Regions from separate parts of the Homo sapiens genome. Here region 1 is linked to region 2. Evidence: promoter capture Hi-C in 16 types of primary human blood cells and fetal thymus (Javierre and others, 2016). All regions are on one chromosome and are shown on one strand. Each heading gives the region's core, a stretch centred on a gene start or on the middle of the fragment in contact. The rest is flanking DNA. Distances are from core to core; before and after follow the strand shown. Region 1 has its middle 6.1 kb from the start of CD40. Region 2 holds the start of SLC35H1 (solute carrier family 35 member H1).

What was found. The method cuts DNA at HindIII sites, captures the fragments that hold promoters and counts their contacts. A CHiCAGO score of 5 or more calls a contact.
Region 1: a fragment that was not itself captured here is called in contact with the fragment with the promoter of SLC35H1 in region 2 in 4 of 17 cell types (M2 macrophages, M0 macrophages, monocytes and 1 more); the score reaches 8.0 in M2 macrophages.

The regions. Positions count from the first base shown.
Region 1 is chr20:46,110,827-46,113,526 of GRCh38, forward strand. No RefSeq gene overlaps it. Among named protein-coding and RNA genes, the nearest start is that of CD40, 6.1 kb to the right of the region's middle. The HindIII fragment of the contact is 1,495 bases long and covers 671-2,165 here.
Region 2 is chr20:46,363,175-46,365,874 of GRCh38, forward strand. SLC35H1 (solute carrier family 35 member H1) reads right to left here and starts at 1,251. Exons shown (of 10, transcript NM_015945.12): 1 at 1,197-1,251. LOC124904917 (a long non-coding RNA gene) reads left to right here and starts at 1,365. Exons shown (of 3, transcript XR_007067614.1): 1 at 1,365-1,546. RefSeq lists a silencer at 972-1,391. The HindIII fragment of the contact is 17,737 bases long and covers 70-2,700 here.

The DNA of each region.
Region 1 (2,700 bases), core at 168-2,667, 250 kb before region 2:
TGGGCAGAAGTTGCCTTCTAATGGGTCTTTCTTCACGGTCTGGCATTTTTAAGGCAATCAGAACTTTGAGGATGTTTTCCCTGCATTATTGGGCCAAAAACTATCTGCCCTCTCTGGTTCTTACGTTTGGTGTGTGCCCAAAATTAGGAAGAGCAAGGGGAAAGGAGAAAAATGTCATCCTGCATAGAGAACAACAAGTTGTGCCGAGTGTTCTGAGGGAACATTGCAGGGCAGATGGATTGTTCTGGATGTTCAGGATGTGTACCCTTCTTACTTGAGGGGAAGGAGGGCAGGAGGCTTGACAAGGAAGCCAAGGAGGCATAGAATGTGCGTTGTAAGCCAAGTGTGGCCACTCTGATTCCTTTCCCAAGACTTTGAACCTCGAAGGAGTGATGCTCAAGTTCAGGGGTAGTTAGAGATTGTGTTCATTATCTATTGCTGGGTAAGAGGTTGACCTGAAACTTAGTGGCTTGAAACAAGAAAACATCTATTATCTCACAGTTTCTGTGGGTTAGGAATCCAGAAGCAACTTAGCTGGGTGGTTCTGATTAGATCACCACTGGGATCAATGTGTCAGCTGGGGCTGAAGTCATATGAGGCTTGACTGCTGCGGGAGGGTCCACTTCCACTTCCACTTCCACTTTCACTTCCTATGTGGCTGAGGGCTGGAAGCTTTGAATCCTTGCCATATGGACTTCTCCATAGGCTGCCTGAGTGCTGAGTGTCCTCACGACATGGCAGACAGCTGCTTCCCCAGAGGGCCTGGAGACAGTGCAGGGGGTGGGGGAGAGGGGAGAGAGAGAGAGAGAGAGGAGAGAAGAGAGAGAAAGGAGAGAGAGAAGAGAAGGAGAGAGAAAGAAGAGAGAGAAAGAGAAGAGAGAGAGAAAGGAGAGAGAAAGAAGAAGGAGAGAGAGAAGAGAGAAAGGAGAGAGAGAAAGAAGAGAGAAAGAAAAGAGAGAAGAGAAAGGAGAGAGAGAAAGGAGAGAGAAGAGAGAGAAAGAAGACAGAGAAAGGAGAGAGAGAAGAGAAAAGAGAAGAGAGAGAGAAGAGAGAGAGGAGACAGAGAAGGGAGAGAGAAAGAAGAGAGAGAAGAGAGAAAAAGAAGAGTGAGACAGTGCACACATAAGATGGAAGCCTCAGTCCTTTTATTTTTATTTAATTTTTTTGTAGAGATGAATTATTGCTGTGTTGCTCAGCTGGTCTAGAACTCCTTGCTTTAAGTGATCCTTCCTTTCTTGACCTCCCAAAGTGTTGGAATTACAGGCATGAGCCACTGCACCTGACCTCAGTGGGTTTGTAACCTAACCTTGATGTGACCTACACTCACTTCTGCTGGTTTCTGTTGGTCACACAGACCAACCCTGGTACAATAAGGAAGGGGACTACATAAGGGTGTGAAGACCAGGAGGTAGGGATTGTTGAGGGCTGTCTTGGAGGTAGGCTGGCACAGAGATGGTTTATAGAACTTTTCTGTGGCAGAGTCTCATCTATTCCCTGCCTCCTGTGGTTTTGCCTGGGTGCCTCCCTTGAGCCTTCCTGTCGGCTCTCTGGGCTGCCCAACACCCTTTCAATAGTGTCCTCTTTTATTTAAGTTCACTGCTACATCTTCTCTTGTTTGCAAGGACAACTCTGATTAGAACAGGTGCTACAAGAGAGGACAGTGGCGGGGGAGGTGGGTGGGTAGCAGAGGAAACTCATTTTAGATAAGATGGTCAGGGAAGGCCTCTCTGAGGAGGGGCCACTTACCCTGAGACATGAATGGTGAGGAAGAGTCAGCAGATGAAAGGTGGGAGGAGGGGCGTTTTAGACAGAGGGGGCAGCATAGCCAAAGCTCTGCGGTGGGAACCAAGGTTGCCAATGGCCAGGTCACGCAGCCTCTTGAGGTCACAGTAAAAACTTGGATCCTTTCCCCTGCAACCAAAGCATCTCTTCTTCCAAACATCAGAGTCTGGGAGGGCTGAGGACCAGGCTCCAGGCCTCATTGTGCGGGGATCAGATCAGCCGAGTAAGTGGCTTTAACCAGATAAGGATCAAGACATTCTCTGCTTTGTTCTCGCATCTGTTTTGCCGGCTCTTGGGTTTTCCAAATTTCTGCTTGGGTTCTTTTCTGAGTTTCTTAGTTCCCTTTGATAAATTCCCACGTGATACTGGTGAGCTAAAGGGAAAGCTTTTTGTCCATAGTTAGGCCTGGGAATCCCAGCTAGAGAGCCCTGTCATCTTATGGAGATGGGCTGCTACCCAGGACGGTGTGGGAATGGGCAGGTGGGTCTGAGGGATCCCTTCAGCCTCATTACTCTATAGTTCTGCGTTTATTCAACAAATACCTGTTCAGCATCTGGCAGGTGTTCAGACTCTGTGTGGGTGTTAGGTTAAGAAGATAAAGGAGGCACTGTTCCTCCTCTCCACAATTCAAGTTAGAAGTGAGGGATGGCCTGATCCAAAGGCGATTGAGTGCAAATTCCTTGTTCCTTAGGAATCAGCCACATGGCTGGCCCACAGCCAAAGCCAACAGGTCCTCTGTACCCTGTATTTTAGGGAGCCAGATAGTTTCCCTCCAGGTTTACTAAAGGAGGCAGAACTCGCTTTACACCCACAGCCCAAAATTCCAATTTCCTCTTCCTTGCCCATACAGCAATCTTGGGGAGGAAGGAGGTCCTTGGTTTTACTGAGTAGTCAGGTGTTCATAGGAGAAGGCCATTT
Region 2 (2,700 bases), core at 1-2,500:
TGGACTCCTTATTGGTCTTTTTTGCTGGCACCTTCTTGTCAACTCAATCTATAAAAATTGGGTGCCTAAAGCTTGGAACCTGGCTTCTCTTCTCTCTTAAATCTTACCCTACATAATCTCATCCTACCCAATCCACTTGCCAATGATTTCTAAATTCTTTACATCAGCCCTGACCTTTTCTGTATCAGACTCATATATCTAACTGCCTATTTGGTAGCTGCACTCCAAATATCTAAAACTTAAGATGCCCTAAGAAGATTTCGTAATTATTTCTCACGCTCCCAATCTATCCCAAAGTCATTTAGTAAATGCCAGCATAATACACTTGGTTACTTAAGCCAAAACCAAAAATCTATGATGAAGTCATCTTTGACCACTTATTTCTGTCATTTCTCAAATCCTGCCCTGTCAGTTCCACTTTCAATACACTTCTTGACCCCTCTACTTCTCTTCCTCTCCATTCCCACTACCACAGTCTAAGCCACAATTATCTTTCACCTGCTGACTGCCACTGGTCTAACTGGTCTCCCTGTTTCCTCTTTCGCCCCTAAGGCCTGGAATCTATAAAGCAGCCAGAGAGATGGCACACGAAACAGATCATGCCCTAAGGCTAAGCCCAGCTCCTCAGCCTGGTCCACAAGGAAGGCCTCTGTAACCTCATTCTTCTGCCACTGGTCCCAGCACCCGCCACAGCGGCCCCCTGCCACGTGTCAAACACATCAAACCTGTGTTTTTCTTTACTTGCTGCTCTTCCTGCCTTCAGCTCCCTTCCGCAGACCTCCGCTTGGCTGAATACTTTCTCCAATGCCCCACCCCTCCCAATCCTCGTGGCACTCCCACCTCTGACGTTTCCTTGTTTGCTCACGTGTTTACTGCCCGCCCCAATCCCACCGCGGGAAGCAGCCCCTCAGAGGGCAGGGCCGTGTCCGATTCCGGCCCGGGTCCCGCACCCAGGACGTCGCAGGTGCTCAGGAAATACCAGATGAGCCGGCGTCCGGCAGGTGCCTTGCAGGAGGGCGCTTGGAGACCCCTGCCCCCTCCACAGACGGCGAAACTGAGGCCCGGGGAGGGGCAGGGGCGTGGCGTGCCCCATGTCAACCCGCGCAGATCCCGGGTGGGGAGCCCGCTTCCCTTCTCCAGCCCCGGCCCCCCAGCCTCTGGGAGTGCGCCGGGAGGCCGGCCGCACACCCACTCACCTCGGCCCTGGGAGCTCCAGGCCGGAATCTCCCCACCGGAAGTGCGAGGCCGGATGCCGCCGCCGAACCGCGGCACGGGCGGTAACTTCCGCCGGAAGCTACCCAGGGGCTGGGCGGAGCCGGGGCGAAAAGGCGGGGCGGGGCAGCACGGGGGCGGGGCGTCTGTTGTGGTCGGGTTCTGAGGTGGTCTGGTCTTTCTGAGGTACAGCGTAGTTTTGTCCTCCGCGAAGTCCCTCAGGCTCAGAGCACAGCCGTGTAATTGTCTGCGTCTCTCCCGCGCTCAATCAGGGGCTTGCTTTGGAACCCCGGTGCCTGCTAGTGTTCTGCATACAGTGAGCATCCAAAAAATGGTAACTTGTTTACTTTTACTGAACAAATTGTTTTTCTTATGTCCAGTCTAATGCTGGGCAACCATGGAATGAACCACGAAGATAAGTATCTCATGGGCTTTTTCTTCTGGGAGCTCAGGCCAGCTGGGGCCATTACAACTTAAAACTTGGGCGATCCAGAAGTAATACGAAACATTTGTGAAATATTTTCTGTATGAAACTTTCTAAGAATTATCTCAACTTCAATAGGTTGAGTAGGGAGAGAGCATCCCAGATAGAGGAAATGGGAGAATCCTAAAGGAGGGTGAGAAAGCTCCAGCCGTGCCTGGGGCTCACAGGTTGTTTGTAACTGTGGTGGTTAAAGTAGCCAAGAGGCAGGTTGCAGTGGCCCCAAAATGCCAGCCTAGGGAGTTCAGATTTTCTTCATCTTGCGGGATGGATTAAAAGGGCAGCATTTGCAGTCAAGAACATTAGGCCAGGGCAAGCTAGGGTTGCACATTCAGACCCAGTTTTGTGCCTTTCGCCCTCCTCTAGCCTCCTCCTGGGCTCTCTGGCAGTAAGACCAGCTGCAAACATGGATCCTTACAAGTGACTCAGCTGGGATCCCTGGCCCCTCTGAACAGAAGGCTCAAGGCCAGAGTGTAAGCAGTGTTTTATGCAAACTGCGGCTGTCACCGCCGCCAGCTGGCATCATGCAGGCATTAGTTCATTCAGTGCTTACCAAGCACCTACAATGGTACCCATCACTGCCCAAGGTCTTGGCTTTATTCAGTCCTCAGGCTTGTATTGCATGCACTTTCTATGCCTTTTGAAAGAGCCTGTCCTCACACCCTTCTCTCTCAGAGGCAAGAGATCTATTTTCATCACCACCCTCATTTAAGTCTCCCAGCTACCAAGGCCAAGGTTTGGAGCAACAGCCTAAAACACCAGCTGGAAGGCTGGGCACTATGCACAGGCAACACACAGGGTAAAGAGCGTGTCTTCTTTGTAAGGCACAAGTACTCGAGCTGTTCCCTGGCTGTGTCCCTGGCAGGGAGAAGAGGGAGGATGTGTTCATGGGGGTGTACAGTATGCCTTACCTTGCTGTACCCAGCAGGGTTGAGCAGAAAACGCTTCGTCCCAGTGCAGCAATCTGTGAACACTCTTAACCAGCAGGTGTGTGTCTGTGTGTGTGT